2 separate regions of the Homo sapiens genome follow, and region 1 is linked to region 2. The links are contacts of gene promoters, found by promoter capture Hi-C in blood cells and fetal thymus (Javierre and others, 2016). All regions are on one chromosome and are shown on one strand. Each heading gives the region's core, a stretch centred on a gene start or on the middle of the fragment in contact. The rest is flanking DNA. Distances are from core to core; before and after follow the strand shown. Region 1 holds the start of GCLC-AS1 (GCLC antisense RNA 1). Region 2 holds the start of GCM1 (glial cells missing transcription factor 1).

Region 1 (6,836 bases), core at 1,661-4,160, 280 kb after region 2:
GTGCCTGTGCAAATCATTGTACAAAATATTTGTGAAACACTGTTTTCACTTTATTCTCTCAACAACCTTTTAAAATAAATGTCATCTTACTTAACGATAAGATAAATATTATACCTTATGTATGCAGAACATTGAGACTCAAGTTGGGTAAAAAATTGCTCGAGGTTACGCAACTCATAATTTGTAGAGCTAGAATTTAATTTTATTTATTTGTTTTCTCTCTTTTTTTCTATCCCATTATTACTCATTTTCCTCCCTAGTCCATTATGCTATTATTGCCCAATTACATCTTTATATGTTATAAATCCATCAATAGTTTTATAAGTATTACTTTATGCAGTTGTCTTAAATCAGAAAAATTACAAGCAAACACACATTTATGCTTTTATAAGTCACCTGTGTAGTTACCCTTATTGCTGCTTTTTATTTCTTTGTGAGGATTCGAGTTACTGTTTAGCATCCTTTCATCTCACTTGTAGGGCAGTTCTGCCAGCACAGAGCTAGGATTAGAACCAAGGTCTTCTAACTCCAAGTTAAAGGCTATTTCTACCACATCTCAGGGGCATGAGAGCCTGTGAGTTCCAGGACTATCTTTCCATGAGGAGCTCAATTTCATCATTCTGGATATTGGTCCCGCCAGAATTTCTCATCACTCTTATGAATCCTTTTCACCCTTCATTGCCACAGAAGTTTTAATGAGCAAGCGAGTCGTACTGTTTTCTTGGTTTCTTTTCCGGTATCATATGACTACAGGTGAATGAGATATGGTTAGCAGCAAGCCAGATGTTAAGAAGCAGTGATCTCATTGTTCAATTCCCACCTATAACTAACCTGCACATTGTGCACATGTACCCTAAAACTTAAAGTACAATTAAAAAAAAAAAAGAAGCAGTGAGGCAGGGGAGAGGTGGGAATTGAAACCCACAGTTATGATGTGAGTTCAGGTAGCCAAAGACAAATGGATAATCTAATTATGAATCTAGTTGTGAGAAAAGCAGTATTTGCTAAACTCAGTAGTGAGATTAGGAACTGAGTCATCAGATCAGAGAGAAGGCAGACCAAAGTGAGCCAAATATAAGCAAGTAAAAATCTCTGAGCATTATAATTCAAAGAGATCTGTGTGTTGGATGACTAGGGCTAGTTCCAGAAATGGCGCATAAAAATTAGTTGCCTTTTGTTCAATGCTTGCAGCTGTAGGTGGAAGTGTCAGGGCTACGTGTTCACCTGGTAGAAAGTTCTAAACTGGGCATGATCTAGGAAGGGGAAGGAAGCCTCTAGGATCCTTCCTCTGAGCCATATCCTTCCCAATGTATTAAATCATTATTTATTTAATTTTGAATAATATATGCAGGGCTTCTCAAGAAGAATGGACATCTTGAAGTTCCAGCTATAATTTTAAAAAGAAGAAAACTCCCTATAATTTAAGTGTTTAATCCTATTAGTATATTTCAATTACAGCATGTATGAACTCATTTGGAGAGGACATAAAAAATCTAAGTTTATGGTCTTTATGAGTATGAGACCCATGGTTAATGGGCCTTCTGGTAAAATTCCCTCTCCTCAGCCATACCCTGCAATAGCTCAGATGTCAGGGACCTATTCAAAACGTATTGGTTTTATAAAACTGATACATGCTTATCACAAAAAGGGCTACGGAAGAGTATATAGAAGAAAGTTAAAAAACAAAACCAACAAGCAAAACCCCCACTATCAACTACCCAGAAATAATTGTCATAACATTTGGCAACATCATCCTAGTTCCTAGTGATCTCTCTATGTATGTACCCATATTCACACATAGACATAATTCTACAAAAATGGGACCTACTGTAAATGCTTTTTTTAAAAAACAAAAAGCATTAAATTTGTCTTTACTTGAACTAAACTGGAGAAAAGCTAGTGAAATTGGTAGAATTGCTCAATCTCAGATTAATAAGTTTCTTCACATCAAGCAATTTTATTTTCCTAGAAGATAACTCTAAAATTTCAAAAGATTTTTTTACTTAAAAAAAAAAAACCCAATCACCAAAATGCTTCAATTCAAGCAGTATCTATGGATCTGCCTGCACTGAAGGTAAGCAACATGGCACCATCTTTCTAACCTACCCCTACAACACCATATTTCTGTTAAGTGTATTATTATTTTTTCATTATCAAGATTCATAAATTTACTCTGTCCTGTAGCCATAATTCTCAGCTTTGCTTTTTCTTTAAGCCATTGAATGTGTTTAATGACCAACCTTCCACTTCCGGGTTTTTAATTTTTCACTTAACAATTGGCTTGCTGGGTTTTGTTGTTGGATGGCTTTTTCAAAAATAATTCATGAGCACTAAATTTCATGAATTGCTGCTTATTTTAAAGTTTGTTTCCTGCCTTTATGTTTCAAGCACAATTAGATGGACACAAAGTTACCCTTTCCTTTCCTCAGAACTTTGTAAGCAGAGCTCCATTGTCTTCTGGCATTGAATGCTGCTGCTGAGGTTTTGGAGGTCAGGCTCATCTGCACCTCCCTCACAGCCCTTACACTTAGAGGAGCTTTTCTTTTTCTACATGGATGTCCTTAAAGCTTTTAGTTTATTTCAAGATATGTGTAAGCATTAAATATTCTTTATCAGATTTTCCTGGGAAATTTTTTCTAGTGCTTTGTGTTCTCTTTTTGTTATTAAATCTTTAAGTACATTTTCTTTCACTATTTGCTTTTTAAAATTTAAGAATACCCATTATTTTTATATTAGATCGCCTTTGTCTAGATTCCATATTAGTAGTCATCTGTCTAGTAATTTTCATCTTTTTTCCATTTCATATTTTAATGTTTGCTCAAGGCTGTCTTTTATCAACTCAATGGTTTTTTGTCATACATATTTTACTTTTGATTACTTCTGTGGTCTTTAGCTATGAAAAGACTGATGAGCCTCCTGGACTGGCCTCTCAATACGGTGGATATTATCACCATGGGTTCATAGTTTTTGGCTTTGCTCATTTTTTTTCTTCCTTAGATCAGCCTCCTTGCTCCATTTCTTGAATGAGTCAACTCATCTCTTACCTCTTCAACAGTGGCAGAAAATTTGGATAGATGTTTGTAATCCATTACTGATTTCTTGGAAACTTAAGGAATGGGAGAAGTTGCAAGATAGTAGATGAACTGGGGAAGAGAATTCCAAGAAGGAACAGCATGTGACGGATACCTGGAGTAGAAAAAAAATAGTGGAGCTTTTGAGGCAATGAGAAAAGGATTATGTGGGTCAGGAAGCACAAGCTTGAAAGACAGCAGTGCTAGGTAAAGTGAGGGAGGCCAGATAATATAAAAGGCATTTTAGACTATGAAGTTTGGATTACATCCTTAGAGTACTGGGCTGGGGCAAGGTAGAGGAAGTGGTGGTTACTAAAGAACTTTAAACAAAAAAGGACAAACATTAATGTTTTTTAAAAAAATGATAGCTATGGTTGTAGGGTAGAATGAAGAATAGAAAGTAGAAGATCAGTCAAGAAACCCTTAACACCTACTCACAGATGGTGGTTGGTTAGCAAAGGTGTTAAAAACAGGAGGAAGAAACATAGAACTTTTTTAAATGTAGGAAACTGGATGTATTAAATATATGTTTGCATCCATACCAGTTTGACTTATAATAGAGAAAACATGAAAGGAATTCAAATGTTTATCAATAGGTGAATTTAAACAAATTATGATATTTCCATGCAATGGAATACTACTCAGTCACAAAAGGAATGAACTAATAATATACAAAACATAGATGAATCTGAAAATAATTATGGTAAGTGAAAGAAGAATGAAAAGAAGAGTTTATACTGTAAGATTCTATTTATATAAAATTCTAGAAAATACACACTAAGCTGTCATGATGGAAAGCATATCAGTGGCTAGTTTGGGGAGTAGGGAGAGGTGGGCCAGAGGGATTACAAAGGAGCATTAGGAAACTTTCGGGGATGATGGAGATGTTTATTATCTTGATTATGGTGGTAGTTTTGAATGTATACTTGTGTCAAAGCTTATCAAATAATGTACTACAATTATGTACAGTTTATTTCAGTTATACATGAATAAAGCTGTTTTACTATTAAAATGTAATTTTGAGGTAGTTTAATAGCATTTAGTGAAGAGAACGAGGGATAGGAAGACAAAAAAGATTATTATAAGGTTTCTGGAATGAGATAATTTCTGTGAAGATATTTAAAGCCCTGGCAATGGATGAGACCACCAAGAGTAGGAATGGAAGAAGGTCTAGGACTGAGTGTGGAGGACAGCTGATATTTACAGGCTGTGTGGAGAAGGAGCAGAGGTCTTACTTCTTTGTGGGGTGTGCCATTGTTGATTTATCTCTTATTGAGAGAGATCATGTTTATTGCTAATATTTTTCATTTCTGAGCTGCAACGAATAACCTTATACATTTTGGAAGTGTGTGTACATGTAATCTGTAAGATAAATTTTTAGATGTAGAATTTTCTGGATCAGAGGGTAGGAGTAGTTGTGATTTTGGTAAATAATGCTAAATTCCTCTTCATAGAAGTTGTACCTATTACATTCCCATCAGCAATATGAAAATGCCTCTTTCCCCACAACCTCATCAGCACAGAAGATTATCAAATTTTTGACCTTTCCTAATTTCACAAGTGAAAATTGGTAGCTCAGTATTATTTTAATTTGCATTCTTTAGCTATGAGTGAGATTAAACATGTTTTATTGGTTAAGAGTCATTGGGAGGATTGTTGTACCTTTAAAAAAATTGAGTTATTGATTTTTTTTAACACGTTATACATGCTTTCTTTATATAAGGAAAAGTAGCCCTTTGCTTCCAATATATCTTGCATATATATTTTCCCAGTTTGCTGTTTGTCTTTGAAATTTGTTTATGGTAGCTTCGGCCTTGTAGAAATGGTTGATTTTCGTATTGTCAAATTTATAAATCTTTTTGTTTATGGTTCTTGAGTTTTGTGTCATAGAGAGGTTTTTCCAACTCTCGAAGAATTCTCTCGAGATTTCTTAGAACTGATTTATAATTTCATTATTTACTCTGAAATCTTTGATTCAATTGTATATTTTCCTGGTGCAAGTGGGAGGGGTTAAGACAATTTTAGTTTTATTTTTAGATGGCTACCTGGTTTCCCAAAATCATTTATAAAATAACTGTCTTCTCACCATTGACTGGAAGATTTCACCTTTATCTTTGTTAAGTAAAAGAGAAGGCTTTATAAATGAGGGTTTTAGAATATATTTGAATGCTGACACTTAATCCCAGTGCAACACTGTTGGGAGTTGCGGCCTTTGGGGTATTTAGGTCATAAGGGCTCCACCTTCATGAATGGATTAATGTTGTTATAAAAGCCCTTTATGAAGGAGTTTGGTCCTCTGTCCCTTCTGTCTTCTGCCATGTGAGGACACAGTGTTTCTCTTCTTTGGATGACACAGTGTTCAAAATGCCATTGTGGAAGCCAAGAGCAGCCCTCACCAGATGCTGGTGCCTTGATCTTGGACTTCTCAGCCTTCAGAATGGTAAGAAATAGATTTCTGTTCTTTATAAGTTCTGTTCTTTATAGGTCTGTGCTATTATACTAGCACAAAATGGACTAAGACAATGAACATGTATGCAGATATGTTTAAATTTCATGGTGGAAAGAAAGATGACTTCTATTTTCCTGTTGTAGTAGAGGGTGTTGATGGATACAAGGCAGCAAAGTCCATTTCTGCTATAACAAAACACCATAGACTGATGGCGTAAACAATCAATATTTGTTGCTCACAGTTCAGAAGGCTGGAAGTGCAAGATCAAGCTGTCAGCAGATTTGGTGTCTGGTGAGAACCTGCTTCCTTGTTCATAGACAGCTGTCTGCTTCCTGTGTCTTCACCTGGCAGGAGGGTTAAGGGAACTCGCGGGAGCCTCTTTCATAAGGGCATGAATCTCATTCTTGAGGGCTCCACACTTACGACCTAATCACCCCCTAAAGTCCCCATCTCTTAATTCTATCACCCGGGGGGTCAGGATCTCAGCATTCAAATTTAAGTTGGGGGACACGAACATTCAGATCATGGCATAAACCAACCGTTCTAATTGCATTATTTTCTCTAGAAATGATCGGCTGCCTCTGTGTGGGCAAAGAAAAGGCCTATCTACCTTGGAAACAAAGCTTTGGAAAACTCATTGCTGGTCTAAAGAAACAGACAATTGAGGCCAGGCGCTGTGGCTCATGCCTATGCTCCCAGCACTTTGGGGAGCCGAGGTGAGAGGATCTCTTGAGCCCAGGAGTTCAAGACCAGCTTGGGTAACATAGTGAGACCCCACGTCTACCAAAAAAACATTAATAAATTAGCCAGGCATGGTGGCTTGTGTCTGTGGTCACAGCTACTCAGGAGGCTGAGGTGGGAGGACTGCTTGAGCCTGGGAGGTCGAGGATACTGTGAACCATGATCGCACCACTGTGCTCCACCCTAGTCAACAGAGCAAAGCCCCATTTAAAAAAAAAAAAGGAAAAAGAAAAGAAAAAGAAAAAATGAAATACACAATTGGACAGTAAAAGAGCCTCTAAAGGGGAAGCAAACAAGAGGTTAATAGGGCATTGATGACTAAGAACCCATTTTGCAATATTCTCTGGAGCTGGCCTTGCATTTAGAATGAATGTGAACCTGAAACTCTTCAGGATTCAGGGCAGGGGATGGCATATGATCTATTTGCCTACACTTTGCTTCAGCTGACAGCAGCCGGCAGGTCATGATCCCTGTTTTCTCCCATGATTTGTTGTCTCAGCTGCCAGATGACAGTGCTATTGGGCTGCTCCTAACTATGATCACTCCTTAGCCTGTCCTCGGGTAGCTCTTGCTTC
Region 2 (7,050 bases), core at 442-2,941:
GGTTAAAGGAGGTTTACCAAGAAAAAAAGAAAGAAAATTTGAAGTGTTCTACCCTGAGGAAAAAAATGAATAATTTTGCAGATGAAAGCTACTTGTTAGTACGATATGAAGTGAAACATGTTCACATGTATAACATTTCATTTATTGGTACTCTTATAAAAACAAGAGACATAATGATGTTATGTAGAGCTATTTAATAGCGAACTCAAACTATAAGGTAGATTAATAGTCTAAGCTTTGGCGAGACCCATGAACTCTTTTCTTTAGTTTTTATTGTTTTTTTTTTTTTTTTTTTTTTAATGGAGTCTTACTCTTATCACCCAGGCTGGAGTGCAGTGGCGCAATCTCAGCTCACCATAGCCTCCACCTCTGGGGCTCCAGTGATTCTTTTACCTCAGCCTCCCAAGTAGCTGGGATTACAGGCACGCACCACCACACCCAGCTAATTTTTGTATTTTCAGTAGAGATGGGGTTTCACCATGTTGACCAGGCCGGTCTTGAACTCCTTTCCTCAGGTGATCCATACGTCTCTGTCTCCCAAAGTGCTGGGATTACAGGCATGAGCCACTGTGCCCGGCCTGTTCTTTAGTTATTTAGTGTTATATAATCCTAATACTTGTCAATCACTGAACTCTACCAAGGGAAAGTGTATGTATATAAAAGACCGTTGACCTGAACATAAGAATGAAGTTCCTTTTTTCTTTTTTGTGTGTGCTCTAGATGTCCAGAGAAATTTCTCTAGTAACAAACTATAGAAATGATCCCTGAAAGTATAGTCTTTATAAATAAAGTTCTTGACCATTAAATGACAAGCTAATCAGAGTCTCTTCCTGTCTGTTCCACATACCCATACTGAGCTACAACCTAGTGGTTGCAGAGCACGAAGTTTCTGTTCCCCAACTGAATGTTGATTTTCAAGACTAAATCCTCATGGATTTTAAGTAAAATTCTATGTTTAGGAAAGAAACATTGTGTTACTGAAGAAATGATGCCGCAAATTGACTCTAATTCAAAGGACTTAAATAACAGGTATAGAAGATGCAGATACCAAGCAGCAGTTCCGTGTACTTACCCTGAACAGTAACGATATTGTCTCTGATGGTGCAAATTTTGTTATAACTAATTGGAATAGATCTACTTTTTAAAAACCTTGGCAAATAAGATTCATATTTTCAAAAATCAAAAACATTGTTATAAAGCCTAGGCAATATAGACATAATTATTTTGTTTTTAAATTAAGGGAAGAATAATAAAGAAAATTTTATTACAGAACAACTATGTTACATTTTAGATTTTTCTCTCGATATTAACATTTGCTAAGCGAATGAGCATTAATTTAATATTTCCCTAAAAGTTAAGAACAAAACATAGAAAAGAAGAAAAAACCATTTTACAGCCCTTAAGTAAACTCTGTTTTCCTCTTCTAGGATTGAAAAACTACACTTGTCAAGACTCCTTTTTTTAAAGCAACTTGCGCAAAGTATATTCAATTTTCATCATTTCTACAGAAAAATGAACTAGAACAAATGAAACCCTGTAGGAATAGAGTGGTCGTTGCCACATCCCTTACATTTGCCTCTCCACGGGATTTCTGGCTTTCTTACCTTCTAACTTCTTACGGAGAAGCAGACAGCACTGTGTCGTGAAAATCTTACTGCTGGTTCAAGTCCCAGCAGGCTCTGGTCATTTTCTGAGCAGACGCTGTTCCCTATTCCAGGTCAGGGTACACTATGCTAATGAGTTCTGGCAATGGTCCAATCAAAATCTAGATGCTCTAGGCTCTGGATAGGTAAGAGCAGCCTGGGAGTCACTTAACCAGCCTGATTCTTCCCAGAATGCCAGCAATGTGATGAATATTCTATGATGTGTCTCTGAACTTCCCCCTCCCTTTATGTTATGAGGACATTTGAACTAAAATGGACATTGAAAAGAACCTCATAAGGAAGTACAGATGTTTTTCTTCTTGTGATGTTACAGGTTGGGCCCCAGGCAGACGATTCACAGTAGGTCCTAATTCTCCCACTATTTACCCGGCAGGTAATAGTTCTCTCTCATGTGTGCAAGAGAGAGAAGACAGACAGACAGAGATAGAGAGATATTATGGTGAGGAAATTTACTGGAATAGACAGTGGATAGCCAACATCCTCTATACCAGAAATACTGAAATGCTATCTTAACCCTAGCAATAATGTCCCACTAATTCTAAGTGTTCTGATCCCCTAAAAATATACAATTCTTGGCCGGGCGTGGTGGCTCACACCTGTAATCCTAGCACTTTGGGAGGCCGATGTGGGCGGATCACAAGGTTGGGAGTTCAAAACCAGCCTGGCCAAGATGGTGAAACCCCGTCTCTACTAGAAATACAAAAATTAGCCAGGTGTGGTGGCGAGCGCCTGTAATCCCAGCTATTTGGGAGACTGAGGCAGAGAATTGCTTGAACCCGGGAAGCGGAGGTTGCGTGAGCTGAGATTGCGTCACTGCAGTCAAGCCTGGGTGACAGAGCGAGGCTCCATCTCAAAAAAACAAAAACAAAACAAAACAAAACAACAAAAAAAAACGAACAAACAAAAACCAATTATTTCTTCTAGAGATACCCTCAGTGCTATTCTTCCTTTTAGAGACATCCGCAGTACAGCCTAAATCAGTTCAGTTCATATGTTTTGTTCTAGGTAGTCTGCCAGGCCTTGGCAACACAAGAGAGAATGAAAGCCATTAAGAAGTTCATTCTAGTAGAAAAGATGATTAAAGCTACTAAATAAGGCCGATTTAATTTGATGTATAGAATAAAAGTAATATAAATGAGAAGGCTATTAAGCTGGAGGGAGGAGAACCAAAGGAAACCCACCAAAATAATGCTCGATGAGCCTTTTGAAGGACAAATAGATATTTATCAAGGCGTGAAGGACTGGAAGAGGGTGTTTCGGGGAGTGACAATATCCTGGACAACATGACGAGGGATCAGTACCTGTCAGGAAGGTCCAGACTTTCAAGGATGAGGCTTAGGAGGCAGAGATGAGAAGGCGAGAAGGCAAAAGGCTTGGAAAGCCTCATAGTTGCATTCGGCGGCCCCTAATAGATTTCTCATTCGTCTTTCAGTTCATGAACAAATTCCTTTCCTGCCTGAAGTTTAAGACCCTGCTTCATCTTTTTTTTTTTTTGAAACGGAGTTTTGCTCTTGTTGCCCAGGCTGGAGTGTAATTGCACTATCTCGGCTCACCACAACCTCTGCCTCCCGAGTTCAGGCGATTCTCCTGCCTCAGCCTCCTGAGTAGCTGGGATTACAGGCGCACACCACCACGCTCGGCTAATTTTGTATTTTTAGTAGAGATGGGGTTTCTCCATGTTGGTCAGGCTAGTCTTGAATTCCCGAACTCAGGTGATCCACCCGCCTCGGCCTCCCAAAGTGCTGGGATTACAGGCGTTAGCCACCACGCCTGACCAACCCTGCTTGATCTTATTGTACTTTATCTGGCCAGTCTTGGTCTCCTCTCTGTAATCCCTTTGTTGGTCAGGAGGACATTTCTCCATCCATCAGATACATTGTATCAGGACAAAGCCTAAAATTATGCCAGCTGGTGAAAGAGGATGTCTACAGGGTCTAGGTCCAGAATCACAAGCGGAGTAAAGAGTGGATTTAGTGTCGACAGGCAATAAGTCAATCACTGGCACACCTGTTGTGCTTATTCACTTACTTAGGTCTATTCTCTAGTGTATTTTTCACATCCATATATCTGAACCCTGTCTACCCTTCAGGATCCCCAAAATGCCACCTCCTTATGAGAGCTTCCCACACTATTCAAGAACACATGATTCCTCATTTCTGTGATGCTCTTTTGTTTCTTTTTTGAGACAAGGTCTTACTCTGTCACCCAGGCTGGAGCACAGTGGTGTGATTATGGCTCACTATGGTCTCGCTTTCCTGGGCTCAAGTGATCCTCCCGCCTCAGCATCCCAAGTAGCTGGGGCTACAGGTGCTCACCACCACGTCCCGCTAATTTTTGTATTTTTTGTAAAGATGGGACTTCACCATGTTGTCTAGGCTGGTCTTGAATTCCTGGGCTCAAGAAATCGCCTGCCTTGGCCTCCCAAATTGCCGGAACTACAGGTATGAGCCACGGTGCCTGGCCATGTTGAACTCTTAACTGTGAATTATATGCTGTCTTGTATCACTTGGATCTAACAGTGTTTTTAAATTACAAAATAAATTCATGATTTATAAAAAAGTCATATTCTCATCTCCCATAGGTTTCCACTGTTAACATGTCAGGCATGTCCTTTCAAACTTTTGTTTTCCCATATCTTTTTGTTCCCATATAGAACAAAAGATATTATTTTTATTTGCAATCCTATTTTACGTGATATTGCCTTTAGTTGTTTTGTTTTGTTTGTTTGGTTGATTGGTTTTGTTTTGCTTTTTTTGGAGATACGGTTTCCCTGTGTGGTCCAGGGTAGACTCAAACTCCTAGGTTCAAGTCATTCTCCCCACTGAGCCTCCCAAGCAGCTGGGACTCCAGGTGCCCGCCACCACATCAGGCTATTGCTTTTCATTGTTGATGAGTGTTGGTTCTGGCTCCCCAGTGAGGCTGCTAGTTCTTTCACGGCCAAGTTGGGATCTTCTACTTTCCCTCTCCTCATAGAAAGACTTGCTGAGTTTCCAGCAGCAACATCACAGCCATCCTTGTCCCAAGCACCAACCCTACTCGGACACAGGAGGGCGCTGAGAAGCTCTGCCTTCACACTCTGATAGAGGTGTGACATGATGTCCAGACTAGTAAGGGTATTTTTGCTTTCTTGAGGCCAAGGTCCCAACTTATTACCCAAATTCTCCTAATTGTTTTTGTTTTGTTTTGTTTTTTGACACAGGGTCTTGCTCTGTCCCCCAGACTGGAGTGCAGTGGCACAATCTCAGCTCACTGTAGCCTCCTCTTCCCAGGCTCAACCTATCCTCCCACCTCAGCCTCCCAAGTAGCTGGGACCACAGGCACATGCTACCACACTCAGCTAATTTTAAAAACTTTTTGTAGAGACAGGGTCTCACTGTGTTGCCAGGCTGGGCTCGAACTCCTGGGATCCAGTGATCCACTGCCTCAGCCTCCCAAAGTGCTGAGATTATAGGCGTGAGCCACCTTACCTGGCCAAATTCTCCTAATTGGATCTCTGTCATTGTTATTAATAACAATAATCATAGTAGCTTCCCTTGACTGCACATTTACAATGAATCAGGCGCCATGCTTAATCACCTGTCTGTATTATCACTCTTGATCCATACAGCATCCCTATCAGATAGATACTATTTTTATTATGCCTCCTTTGTGGAGAAGGAGATCAAGGCTCAGACAAATAGCTTTACACAGAAATGTAAGTAGCAGAGCTGGGGTAGAACTCAGAGACATGCCTGTTGACCACGGTACTGCATGAAGAGCCCTATGTGTTCAGCATCTGGAGTCTTTGTCTCCACTCCTATAAAATCTGAGTTCTACATCACTCTTTCCACCCTGTGCCTCCTCCCCTAGAGACAGGAATCCTGCCTTAAGCCAGGTGGCTAGAGGCCCTATTACTTGGTAACTGACCTCAACCACTAATGATTGGATTTCTCAGTATCTCTACTTTTGCATTCCCTGACACTCTGAGGCCTGCCTATTGAGATCATTCTGGTTTTTTTTTCATCAATAGTGGTGCTTTAGGCATTTTAAGCAGGATAATTATTTGGGTCAGACTGTCCCATGCACAGAATTCCCAGACGCAAGATGCCAGCAACATCCCAGTCACAATATCAACCATAACCCACACCTTCATATTTCTACATGTTCGGGAACCAGGGAGGGAGCAGTATTGTGCTGCCTTTGGTTTGGGGTGACCATGCCAGACTCTCAGGGCTGACAAGTTTGCCTAGACTATTGCCTGCGGTTTCCAATTCACAGCCTAAAAGATACCTTGTTCTACCTAATGGATGAACTTCTACACTTACAGTTCTATCCTTCTGGTATCTACCCTATCTAGTTTCAGCCATTTGCCCAGTTCTTCTACTGTGGACTTTTTTTTTTTTTTTCAAGACAGAGTCTTGCTCTGTCACTCAGGCTGGAGTGCAGTGGCGCAATCTCGGCTCACTGCAACCTCCGTCTCCCGGGTTCAAGCGATTCTTGTGCCTCAGCCTCCTGAGTAGCTGGGGCTACAGGCGCATGCCACCACGCCCAGCTAATTTTTGTATATTTAGTAGAGATGGGGATTCGTCATGTTGTCCAGGCTGGTCTCGAACTCCTGACCTCAGGTGATCCACCCACCTCAGCCTCCCAAAGTGCTGGGATTACAAGCGTGAGCCACTGTGCCCAGCCATTCTATTGTGGACTTTTATTTATCATTTATTATGTATCCGGCATTTTTCCAAACATTTAGTTCTCACAACCACTTCATGAAATTAATATAAATTTTTAGTTGTTGTACATATTTGCTGGGTACATATGATATTTTGGCTACATGCATAGAATGTGTAATGATCAAGTCAGAGAATTTGGGGTGTCCCTCACCTTGAGTATTTACTGTTTCACATGTTGGGAGTATTTCAAGTCCTCTCTTCTAGCTATTTTGCAACATACAATACATTGTTATTAACTATAGTCATCGTACTCTGCTACTGAATATATTAAGAAATATATGGAATGCTTCACTGACTTGCATGCCATCCTTGTACAGAAGCCATGCTAACCTTCTCCATATCATTCCAATTTTAGCGTATGTGCTAAAGGGAGTACTGGTATTATTAAGCTATATAAGTATGAAATTAGTATAAGGAAACCGAGGCACAGAGAGGTAAAGTAGCTTGATGTTTACAAGGTGGTGTAACCAAACTTTTGGCATCAGCAAATTGACATAGGTCAAAGGAAAAATATGAACTGGAGAAGAATGATGTTAAAAGTCATTTCCTTCGTGGGAGAGTATGTCTATCTAACATTCTGATCCCTTCTGGTGTCAACATTCCCCTGCCTCCTTACCTCACCATTTTTTAGGAAATTGCCTTTCCCCCAAGGCTGTCCATTAGAACGTTCTGTCCCT

Evidence for each region. Contacts are between HindIII fragments. The CHiCAGO score rates a contact against its expected background, and 5 or more counts as called.
Region 1: a fragment that was not itself captured here is called in contact with the fragment with the promoter of GCM1 in region 2 in 9 of 17 cell types (total CD8 T cells, non-activated CD4 T cells, total B cells and 6 more); the score reaches 8.5 in total CD8 T cells.

Annotation. Positions count from the first base shown.
Region 1 is chr6:53,426,129-53,432,964 of GRCh38, forward strand. GCLC-AS1 (GCLC antisense RNA 1) reads left to right here and starts at 5,366. Exons shown (of 5, transcript NR_183318.1): 1 at 5,366-5,511. The HindIII fragment of the contact is 690 bases long and covers 2,566-3,255 here.
Region 2 is chr6:53,147,150-53,154,199 of GRCh38, forward strand. It overlaps GCM1 (glial cells missing transcription factor 1), which reads right to left and starts at 1,692. Exons shown (of 6, transcript NM_003643.4): 1 at 1,605-1,692. It also overlaps the pseudogene LOC124901513 and the pseudogene RNU6-464P. The HindIII fragment of the contact is 12,096 bases long and covers 234-7,050 here.